Regions from separate parts of the Homo sapiens genome. Here regions 1 and 3 are each linked to region 2. Evidence: promoter capture Hi-C in 16 types of primary human blood cells and fetal thymus (Javierre and others, 2016). All regions are on one chromosome and are shown on one strand. The core of a region is centred on a gene start or on the middle of the fragment in contact, and the rest is flanking DNA. Distances in the headings are between cores, read along the strand shown. Region 1 overlaps IQCK (IQ motif containing K). Region 2 holds the start of KNOP1 (lysine rich nucleolar protein 1). Region 3 overlaps IQCK (IQ motif containing K).

What was found. Contacts are between HindIII fragments. The CHiCAGO score rates a contact against its expected background, and 5 or more counts as called.
Region 1: a fragment that was not itself captured here is called in contact with the fragment with the promoter of KNOP1 in region 2 in 1 of 17 cell types (endothelial precursors); the score reaches 7.2 in endothelial precursors.
Region 3: a contact is called between a fragment that was not itself captured here and the fragment with the promoter of KNOP1 in region 2, in 1 of 17 cell types (endothelial precursors). The highest score is 6.3, in endothelial precursors.

What each region holds. Positions count from the first base shown.
Region 1 is chr16:19,797,698-19,801,304 of GRCh38, forward strand. All of the region lies in intron 7 of IQCK (IQ motif containing K), which reads left to right. Among named protein-coding and RNA genes, the nearest start is that of IQCK-AS1, 33 kb to the left of the region's middle. The HindIII fragment of the contact is 1,266 bases long and covers 1,361-2,626 here.
Region 2 is chr16:19,715,678-19,719,504 of GRCh38, forward strand. KNOP1 (lysine rich nucleolar protein 1) reads right to left here and starts at 2,550. Exons shown (of 5, transcript NM_001012991.3): 1 at 2,481-2,550. IQCK (IQ motif containing K) reads left to right here and starts at 2,594. Exons shown (of 9, transcript NM_153208.3): 1 at 2,594-2,810. The coding sequence starts at 2,630. RefSeq lists an enhancer at 2,474-2,803. The HindIII fragment of the contact is 12,693 bases long and covers 1-3,827 here.
Region 3 is chr16:19,830,896-19,834,785 of GRCh38, forward strand. The region is part of intron 8 of IQCK (IQ motif containing K); the gene reads left to right. Among named protein-coding and RNA genes, the nearest start is that of GPRC5B, 52 kb to the right of the region's middle. The HindIII fragment of the contact is 3,720 bases long and covers 1-3,586 here.

The DNA.
Region 1 (3,607 bases), core at 744-3,243, 81 kb after region 2:
TGCATTGGGCGAACTAGGGTAAATGAGGGAACCCCCAAGGAGAAACAGCTTGGTATCAGCAGAGTACAAGGTTGAGGGTGGGACAGATCTCACCCTAGATGTGGAGGGGCTGTGGCAGCCTGGACACGTATTCCATCCTTCTGGCTATAGGACTTAGTTCATGATGGGCAGCAGACGGAAATCAGCCCAGTCAGACCTAGTGAGACTCCATTCTGGGATCCTCAGTGGAGTGGCTGGGACAGAGCAGCCCTCTTTGCACTGGGGTTACCGTGAGGCCAGACTGTCAGCACCATCTTAACACAGTGTGAAGAGCCTGTTGGAAAAATGACCACAGAGGCAAGCAGGGGTAAGAGGCAGAGAAAGGGGCTGGGTCCTGAAGTTGTCGTTTGAGGGCCTGCATTCAGCTATACCAATGAATCCCCTTAAAGATGGACTTCAGGGCGGGCACAGTGGCACACGCCTGTAATCCCAACACTTTGGGAGGCTGAGGCGGGTGGATCACTTCAGGTCAGGAGTTGGAGACCAGCCTGGCCAACATGGTGAAACCCTGTCTCTACTAAAAATACAAAAATTAGCTGGGCATGGTGGCGGGTGCCTGTAATCCCAGCTACTTGGGAGGCTGAGGCAGGAGAATCGCTTGAATCCAGGAGGAGGAAGTTTCAGTGAGCCGAGATCATGCCATTGCACTCCAGCCTGGCGACAGAGCCAGAGTCCATCACAAAAAATATATATATATATATATATATATTTCGGTCACTTACAGCCTAGAGTCCTGACAATAAAATTTTCAGTATGAAAATATGCAGACTTTTTATTACTGGCACACAAAGGAGGATATTGGCACAAAATGAAAATCTGGACCCAATGGTAGAGAGCAGCCATTTCAATTTGTCCCAGGAAAAGACTGTCCTATGTCAGCTTGAGGCTTGGCCATGGCTGGAGAGGAGAGCCTACCCCAACAAGCAAATTTGTCTAAAACGTATATATATTTTTTAATTGTGCAAGTAATGCATATCACTTGTGGAAAAAATAGATAATGCATATAAGTTTTGGGGTCTTTTTTTTTGACAGACAGTGTCTCACTTTGTCACCCAGGCTGGAGTGCAGTGGCGTGAACATGGCTCACTGTAGCCTCAATCTCCTGGGCTCAAGCAATCCTCCCACCCCAGCTTCCTGAGTAGCTGGGACTACAGGCATGTGCCACTATGCCCGGCTAATTAAAAAAAAAAAATTTGGAGAAGGGATCTCACTATGTTGGCCAGGCTGGTCTCAAACTCCTGGATATAAGGGATCCTCTCACCTTGGCCTCCCAAAGTGTAGGGATTATAGGCATGAGCCACCGTGCCCAGCAATGCATATAAGCTTTTTAAAAATATATACTATTCATCCTTCTAGAATTTTTTCTATTCATATGGAAATTTTTAAAACATTTTTTACAAAATTGCAATTATAAACACTTTTTTAAGCCTACTCTCTCTCCTTAATATATATTGGGAATATGTTTCATTATTGCCACACAAAGATGTACCTCACAAATTTTAATTCTTCTATGGTATATATATATATTTTTTTTATTTTTTAAATTTATTTTTGAGATGGAGTTTTGCTCTGTCACCCAGGCTGGAGTGCAGTGGTGTGATCTTGGCTCACTGCAACCTCCGCCTCTGGGTTCAAGCGATTCTCCTGCCTCAGCCTTCTGAGTAGCTGGGATTACAGGCGCCCACCACCACACCCATCTAATTTTTGTAGTTTTAGTAGAGACAGGGTTTCACCATGTTGGGCAGGCTGGTCTCGAACTCCTGACCTCAGGTGATCTGCCTGCCTTGGCCTCCCAAAGTGCTGGGATTATAGGCATGAGCCACCACACCTGGCCTATATTTTATTTTATATATATATATATACACACACACACACACACACACACACACACACACACACACACACCCAGTGAATACATTGAGTCATAACTTAATCATAGGTGGTTAGACATTCTTGTTTCCTCTCCTATATATTCAGTGAAAAACATTATTGTTCAAATTCACACACCTGTAGTCCCAGCTACTCAGGATGCTGAGTGGGAGGATCACTTAAGCCCTGGGAGGTCGAGACTGCAGTGAGCTCTGATAATGCCATTGCACTGCAGCCTGAGTGACAGAGAAAGACCCTGTCTCTCAAATAAAACAGAGCAAAATAAAAAACAAAAACAGAAAACCAAAAACCCAAAAGCATCCTCGTTCATATGTCTGCACACCTGTCCGATTTTTCTCCAGATTAATTGCTGGCATTGGAATTGATAGCTCAAAGAGTAAGCACCGTTTCTCAAGAGTTCAGATCATTATTGATAAATTACCCTCTAGAGAGGCTGGAGTTCAACCCCTAGACCAATCTATATGCACACCAGCAATGTATGCAAGTGTACTTTAGCCATAGGTTTTGATGGGAAAGTAGAGAGAGGAAGGAAGGGATTGGGAGCGTGATGCATGTCTCGGGAGGGTGGAGTTGTGAGGACACCATGCTAGAGGGTATGAGAAGGGAGGACCAGTTTGTTCAGTTGTGTGGGCTGTGCGCTGCACAACTCGGGGATACCATTCAAAACCATATGTATTAGACATCTGAGGCTTGGAGAAGCTTGGGAAATAGTAGTTGAGTGGCCACTTGCTACATATTTTTAAATTCCGCTGGCCTACCCAGCTCCTAGCCTATGGTTTTTAAAACCCCTCTGCTAGCTGGAGGCTGGATGAGTCAATGGAGCGTGTATCGGTGATACCGTATAGAAGCACTACTGTCTTGATCAAGAATTTGCATTTTCTTCCTGAAATTATGCAGCATCTTAAACATGAATATTCAATAATATTTAATATTCAATAATAATAATTATAAAATAAATATTGGGAATTTAATCCATAGAGTATTATTTAAACACTAAAAATAATCAACATCAGTCATGGTAACAAGATGGAAATTGCCCATAGTATTACTAAGTGAAAAATGAATAAAATGCCACGTGCAGATTATTTTATGATTATGTAAAAAATAACTTTATATAGAAAATAGGCTACAAAGACATATGTAAAATATTGTGATTGTTCAGTGGCAGGATAAGGAGTGATGTTTTTATTCTCTCTGTTTTATATTTTTAAAATTATTTACAAAGAACATATATGGCTTTTACAAAGTAATAAAAACTTTACTTAGAAACCTATATTCCACCATGATAATGTTTTTTACTCTTTTCTTCTTTAGTTAAAATTTGACATACTTAGACTATTTTTTCTGAGCCTTTTTAGGAGTGTGTGTTTGTGTGTGTGTGTAAATATGCAAAAAAAATTTGAAACACTAGTATTTGGAAAGTGTTCTTTGTTTTATTTTAATCTGATTGTTAGTGTACTCTGTTCATTCTGAAATTCCAAAATCATCTTGTTTTGTATTTCATAGTCTTTCTAATAGTGTTTTTGGTTTTGGGTTTGGGCTGTGTGTGTGTGTGTCTATGTACACAATAAGTGCTTATGGTTAAATAATATTTTCACTAGCAGAGAAGTTTGAGGATTTTTGCCTATAGACCTCCTATTACAAGTCTTCACAGTCTTTCTCTCTCTCTCTCTCTCTT
Region 2 (3,827 bases), core at 1,300-3,799:
CCCAAAGTGCTGGGATTACACGCATGAGCCACCTTGCCTGGCCTAGTTCCACTGTTTTTAAAATTTGAAGTTGATTGCCAACACTGAATGAGTCACAATGATGCACAGTACTGAGGGCACCCAGCTTGTCTTGGACAGATATCGTGGAAGCACCTGTGAGAATGGGCTGGGGTCCTCAATACCCATCAGTGTCCAGCTGGACCACTGCTCTCACTCCAGTCCCCAGCCAAGTTCCTGCACTAGACATTCCCAGAATCTAGAAGCAAAATATCCCAAAATATTTCATAGCAAGTTAGGATCATGGGAGGGAAAGGAAAAACTTCTCCATCCTGCAGCCCTCCTCAGCTTCGGAACTCAGAGGGTCCACACTGGAGCTGGCTCTCTCTTAGCAGCTTCAAAGAGCCAGGCCTGAGCTACAGGTCAAGTTCATTCATAACCCACTCCAGGCGCACCTGGAGAGTCAAGGGAATAACTATACTCATTCATTGCTGTCTGCCCTGTTTCCTGGTTTATTTCCAGTGTCCTGCTCAGTGCCTGGCACATAGCAGGTGCTCAATACATACTCACTGAATGAATGCACACATGCTAGGGATACAGAGATGAACAAGATAAAACACCACCCATCAAGAAGCAAGTAGGTGTGGGAGGGAATAAGGTGTAATACAATGATACAGGTGATAAAAGCAAGGACAGTGCTAAGGTCAGGGTGGTGGAGGTTGTGGAACCTGTCCTACCAGTTGTCAGGAAAATTTCTGAAGAACAACTGCAGGATGGTGGTATTAATCCCTGAGACAAAGGTACTGAAGGCAAGTGGCTGAAGAACAGGCTTGATTGGACAGATGACTTGGAGATGTTCACTGGACAGGTGAATATATATGGATGAGGAGTTTGGGTGGCCGTGCTGACACGGGCGACATAAAGTTAGGAATGTATGGGTGGTGATAAGCCTTGAACAGAACAAGCCTGAGACAAGACTTCAAGAAATACAGTAGCTCGCCACCTAATCCCAGGTTTCCGTTACCCCTGGTCAACCCTGGTCCCAAAATAGGTGAGCACAGTACAGGAAGTTATCTTGAGAGGGAGACCACATGCATGCAACTTTTATTACAGTATACTGTTGTAATTGTTCTATTTTATTACTAGCTAGATTGTTGGTAATCGTTTACTGCACCTAATTTTTTGTGAGACAAGGTCTGGCTCTGTTGCCCAGGCTGGAGTGCAGTGGCATCATCTCGGCTCACTGCAACCTCCACCTCCCGGGTTCAAGCAATTTTCACGCCTCAGCCTCCCGAGTAGCCGGGATTACAGGCACATACCACCACGCCCGGCTAATTTTTGTATTTTTAGTAGGGACGGGGTTTTACTATGTTGGCCAGGCTGGTCTCCAACTACTGGCCTCAGGTGATCCGCCCGCCTCATCCTCCCAAAGTGCTGGGATTACAGGCATGAGCCACCACGCCCGGCCCTACTGTGCCTAATTTATAAACTTTCTCATAGATAGTATACACAAGAAAAAACAGTTATATTTAGGGTTCGGTACTGTCTGTGGTTTCAGGCATCCACTGGGGGTTTAGGAACGTACTGCCCGCGGATAATGGGGGAGGGGGACTATTGTATTGGCATTTAAATAAGTGGGCAGAGATAAAGGAGCTTGCAAAGAAGAAGGTGCAAACCTTGAAATAGTGTAGTCAGGAGAGCCAAGACGACTTCAGAATAGGGGAGCAGTCAAGAGAGCCAAGACGACTTCAGAATAGGGGAGCAGTCAAGAGAGCCAAGACGACTTCAGAATAGGGGAGTGGCCAAGAGATCTGGTAAGAACAAAGAATCCACCGGGAGGTTGCGGGTCAACTCTTAATCCCCTTCTCTCCCCATCTCTTGCCATTTAGAAAAGTATAGCATCCTCCTCTTTAGCCCTGCGACCAAATGCATTCACTCTTTCAAGGAGAAAGGAAAAGAACGTTACAGTGCATCTCCTGCAAACGCAAACGCTTTCTCCAAAACCGCTTTTAAATTCCAGGGACAGCCTTGTGAAGATCTTTGTGAATACCCGACCTCGCAAGCTCCAGAGACTACAATAATTCACTTGCCCTAGGTTCCAAAGCCAGCAAGTGGAAAACGGAGACTGGAATTCCGCCCACAGGACTCCAAAGCCTGTGCAGCAACACCCCACTCCCCCGGCAGGATCACCAGCAGGACGCGCGGGAGCCAGGAAGTAAGATCCGTACCTCCAAGGCTCCCATGGGCCCAAGCCTCCGCATCAACAGACTGGGAGGGATTACGTGGGGTCCCAGGGCCGGCTCTGAGGCGGGAAAACTTTCTGGAGGCGGCGGCCTCAGGCCGGAGCGGGCGCACACCGACTGGAGGGGTCGGATTCAGGGATGTGGGTGGACCGCATTTCCCCATCTTCCCCGCCGCGCACTTCCTCTGGTGCAATCTCCACACCCCGCGCCGGCCCGCCTGCAACGCGCCCTGGCACTCACCGGTGGGCGAAATTTCCCCGCCTCCACGTGAGAGCCAGCTCCGCCGTGACCCGGAAGTCCACTTCGAGTCGCCGGCCCACCCTCTCGGGTTCCGGCTTCTTCCGGGTCGCGGCCTTCCGGCGAACGCGGTTACCGTGGAAACCGCGGCCATGGCGGCACCGCGGCAAATCCCCAGCCACATAGTGCGCCTCAAGCCCAGCTGCTCTACAGACTCGTCGTTCACCCGGACGCCGGTGCCCACCGTGTCTCTCGCGTCCCGCGAGCTGCCTGTCTCGTCGTGGCAGGTCACCGAGCCGTCAAGCAAGAATCTGTGGGAGCAGATCTGCAAGGGTAGGAAACCTGGGCTGGCCGAGAGGGGCGGGACCCGGGCGGCCGGACGGGGGCCGCGTTTGGGGAGCGCCCACTGTGCGCCTGTCGGCTGACGGGCGGGGCCGCCGGGCAGCGGCTCCGCGGGCCCGGGCTCCGCATTTTACGCATGGGGAAACTGAGGCTCGGAGAGGCTGGCCCGAGGTTACGCAGCGCGGACTCCAATCGCGATCCGTAGTGAGGTTAAAGGCAAGGGAACGGCGAGGGAAAGCTGAATAAAGAGAACCATGCGGTGTGGACCATTGGTTCTTAAACCTCGGTTAGTGAACCGAAAGGAATTGCTGGGGCGGGGGCCGGGGTGGGGATCTTGTTATAAACGGAGGTTCCCAGGCCCCGCCCACAGAGCTTCAAATTGGGATGCAGGGAATCTGCACTTTTTAAAAGAGCACCCCAGGTAATCCTAACGTAGGTAGTCGGTGGCCCACACGTTCAGTAACCATGGTGTGGACAAACGGGTTTTAGTCCCTTCTTGCTTCAAACCTTCCTTAACCTCCCCAGGCGGAGTTGAGCACATCTTCCTTTGTGGCTCTACTCAGTATTTGTTACTTAGGTTGGGCAAATTATTTAACTTATGACCCTGTCTGCAAAGTGGGCATAATAATGGCACCTATTTCGATGGTGTTAAGAAGATGGAACCAGATAGTCACAAAAAGTGCTTAGCAAACTGCCTGATTTTAGGAGGGCAAAAGGATTATTGGGGAAAAAAAAACACAAACTGCTCGATTTACAGAAGGAGCTACGTAAGCGCTAGTTCTTAATGAATAATGTTGGGTGGGATGTTTTCTTTTTCCTCCACTAGACCATAAGCTCCTCAAGGTCAAGGACTCAGATTTTTCATTCGTGTGGCCACCATCACTACCTAAGCTGCCTGAAACAGCGCGGTGAAACCCCGTCTCTACTGAAAATACAAAAAAAAAATTATCTGGGCGTGGTGGTGTGCGCCTATAATCTCAGCTACTTGGGAGGCTGAGGAAAGGGAAT
Region 3 (3,890 bases), core at 477-2,976, 110 kb after region 2:
TTGTCATGATAGTATTATTAAAATATTTGTGTTGATTTCTTCCAATAGACTCCAAGCTCCATGGGCTTTCATGTAGGACCGTGTTTGTCTTATTCATCATGAGCCTGGCACAGAGCAGATGGTCTGAACATATTTAGGGGATGAAGCTCTGGGCTTCATTTTACATATGAAGAAATGAAGTTCCAGCAAGATTGAATGACTTGCCCAAGGTCACACAGCAGAGGAGAGCCTGGGGCTGGGCCCAGGACTTCCCTTTCTCTGTCCAGTGTTCTAACATATCCTGGAGGACAGATGCAGAGAGCTAAGACATTCTCTTAGATTCTGCTCTCAGACCCAGCTTCTCAGGAATCTTCTGGAACATGACATATGACCTGTTCAGTTTCCTCTCTGGGCTTCAGGGTTCTTGCTGTTTATGTTTTCATGGACTGAAGCCTCCAGCTAGGGGCTGAATTACGAGAAGCAGAGTACAACCTGCTGCACACCAGGTGAAGCAGAACTTCTTGTTCCCTTTAACTGTCGCCGAGTTGAATCACTTTGTTAAGCTCATGCGCTAGAGTTACTTCCTATTTTAAACCTTATGAATCTGGGTAGTGTGGGGGGTTACAAAATAAATCTCCCCAGCCAAGGTGACACCTCAATTAGACCTCAAAGGCTTGCAGTGAAGCAGTTTGAAAATGGATGTTAAGCACATGCTAGTTCTCCTTTAGACTTGCAATAAAAAATAGTGGAGTGATTGCAAATGAAAATGGTTTTTCAACTTCATTAAAAAAAAAAAAAGCTCATCTATGTACAAATCCAGGAGACAGGCATATCTTTTTAAGTTGTTGCCATTTTATCCACATTGTGCTCCGGCATTTACAGTACAAAGAGATTTTACCAAGTTCATAGCTTAGAGCAACCTTGGGCAGTCAGGAGGTCTGAGGGAGAGTCACATCAGCTGTCGGGGTGGAATTGTGGTCATATATAGCCTGTCTCACATTACAGTGAGTCAGAGACTGACTGTCCCAAACAGTATTTTCTTCTAGGATGGAAGCGGTGTGAAGTTATCTTCAAGTCTCTATCCATCAGGACAGATGCAGGAATTATTTTAAAACGTGTATGGTAAGAATTTCAGCCAATGTAGTTTAAAATAAGATGCCCAAGTCATTTTTGAGATGTAGTAAAAAATATCGTGTCTCGATTAATAGCATATTTTTAGCCTCACATAGTCAGTAATTGTTTTCAAATGTGCTTTGTAATTGAATATCCATATTTTATTTAGAAATCTAGTATGAGCAGGGAGAAAGAAACCATAGAAATTGTTCCCATAACATCAGATTACATTACCTATGTGTGTGTATATATATATGCACACACATATATATACATCATATATATCATCAGATAAATTTATCATGTATGTGTTTGTGTGTATATTCTTTATATATGCACAAATAATCTCTAAATAACTATCACTTCTTAACGTTTTGAAGAAAAGGCAGAGACTTGGAGAGATTGATCTGTCAAAGGAAATGAATTGTCTACTTTTTGTTTGCTTAACTGTTTTATTTCCTACTTCATTCCAAGAGTGGTTTTTAGTAGTTACGGAAATACACACAATATGATATTTTTAGGTAAAGGTGGTAATTAAGGAATAATTAAGATTAGGGAAAAAAATAAAGCCACTCAGTTCTGTAAGTAAAATACTTAACTTCAAGGCCTAGGCTGACAAATACAAATTATATATATTCAAGGTGTGCAACATGATGATTTAATATTCGTATACTGTATTAGTCCATTTTCACACTGCTATAAAGAATACCTGAGACTGGGTAATTTATAAAGAAAAGAGGTTTAATTGACTTACAGTTCTGCATGGCTGGGAGGTCTCAGGAAACTTAAAATCATGGCGGAAGGCAAAAGGGAAGCAAGGCACGTCTTATATGGCGGCAGGAGAGAGAGAGAGTGAGGGGGGAACTGTCAAACATAAACCATCAGATCTCATGAGAACTCACTCACTATCATAAGAACAGTATGGGGGAAACCTCCCCCATGATCCAGTCACCTCCCACCAGATCCCTCCTTCCACACATGGGGATTACAATTCAAGATGAAATTTGGGTGGGGACACAGAGCCAAGCCGTATCATACATACTGTGTAATGATTACTATGATCAAATTAATGAACACATCTATCACCCTTAGTTACGATTTGTGTGTGTGTATGTGTGTGGTGAGGACACTTAAAATCTGCTCTCTTACCAATTTTTAAATAAACAATTCAGTATTATTAACTGTAGTTACCATACTTTACATTAGATCCCCAGAACTTATTCATCTTATAACTGAAAGTTTGTACCCTTTGACCAACATAGAAGTTTCTTAGGAAAACCTGCCAAAGTAAGATGGAAATAGAATCTATTACATAAATTCACAGTGTCCATAAGAAAAAAGACAAAGGGCCATTTGTTCGGGAAATACTCAGCGCTTCCCTAATACATTATGCAATGTGAATCATGGCCTCAAAAATGTTCCTATAGTGAATAGAAATATGGCTCTGAGCTTCCAGGAAGCCACAACAATAAAGGAAATACGATTATTAATGATTTATTGTGTCCTCAAGATTAAGTGAGTTTCTTGGAAGCACACCTTCCTGGAGCTGAGACTTGATTTTTCTTTCATAAAGAGGACACTATAACATACTGAACACCATTTTATTCCCAAATATAGTAAGTTTCTTAGAGCAGTGTTTCCTTCTAGAGGGAAAACATGAAAGCCCAGAGTAGAGGGTGGAGACCAGAGAAAGTTCTTTTCCCTAATTTTAATTTAGACCACAATGACAAATCCTAGCGATTAGGATTTCCCTGTGGTTTAAAGGCTATTCTTAAGATGAACACCTCATCTTACCGCCCCACCTGCTTGTGACCTTAGGATTTGCTGGAGGCTGTGGTCACAGCTGTAATCCCAGTGCTTTGGGAGGCCAAGGTGGGAGAATTGCTTGAGCCTAGGAGTTCGAGACCAGCCTGGGCAACACAATGAGACCCCGTCTCTACAAAAAATAAAATTAGCCAGGCGTGCTAGCACACTCCTGTAGTCCCAGCTACTCAGGAAGCTGAGGTGGGAGGATTGCTTGAGCCTAGGAACCCGAGGCTGCACTGAGCGGTGACTGCACCACTGCACACCAGCCTGGGTAATGAGCAAGACCTCATCTCAGAATAAATAAATACATAAGATATGCTGGAACTTAGTTCTTTCCTTCCTAGCCCATGTAATTGGGTGCATTGCCGAGAGCAAAGAAGGATGTCTGCAACTAAGGAGTAGCTACGAGCGATGGAGCTTATGCCATGTGCCAGACACTACACTAAGCACCTTATGTTTCCACGTAGTCCTCACACATGGTATCTCAGAGAGGTGAGATCATCTCCATCGTACAGATGAGGAAACCGGGGCTGGGAGGATACATGGCTTGCACAAGTCCACGCAGCCAGTCAGGCCAGAGACCAGGGATTTGAACCCGGATCTACCTGATGCCAAAGAGGCTAGAGCCATCCCAGGCCATGCTGTTCTGTAACCCAAGTGCCCAATAGGCCACAGTGGTCCAGTGCAAAGCTTCTCAGCATGGTAACTAAGGACCCACAGGCTGGACAGCAGGCAGTGTCTGGCTATGCCTCCCAGCCTGCACCCTGACACTGGAGTGACCACAGACCACTAGTATAGGGGAGGCTTGGCAGTAGAGGAGGCTGAGAGCCCCATTCAAAGGCTGCAGGATCTACATGAGTGTTTTGGGGAGATATTTTCACTAAAGCAAGAAACCAGGGTTAAGTGAATAAGGATAAGAATATTCTTTTCTCCCTCTTTCCAAATCCTCTGTCCATCTACATTTGAGGAGCAGAGAAAGGTTTGGCCACCAG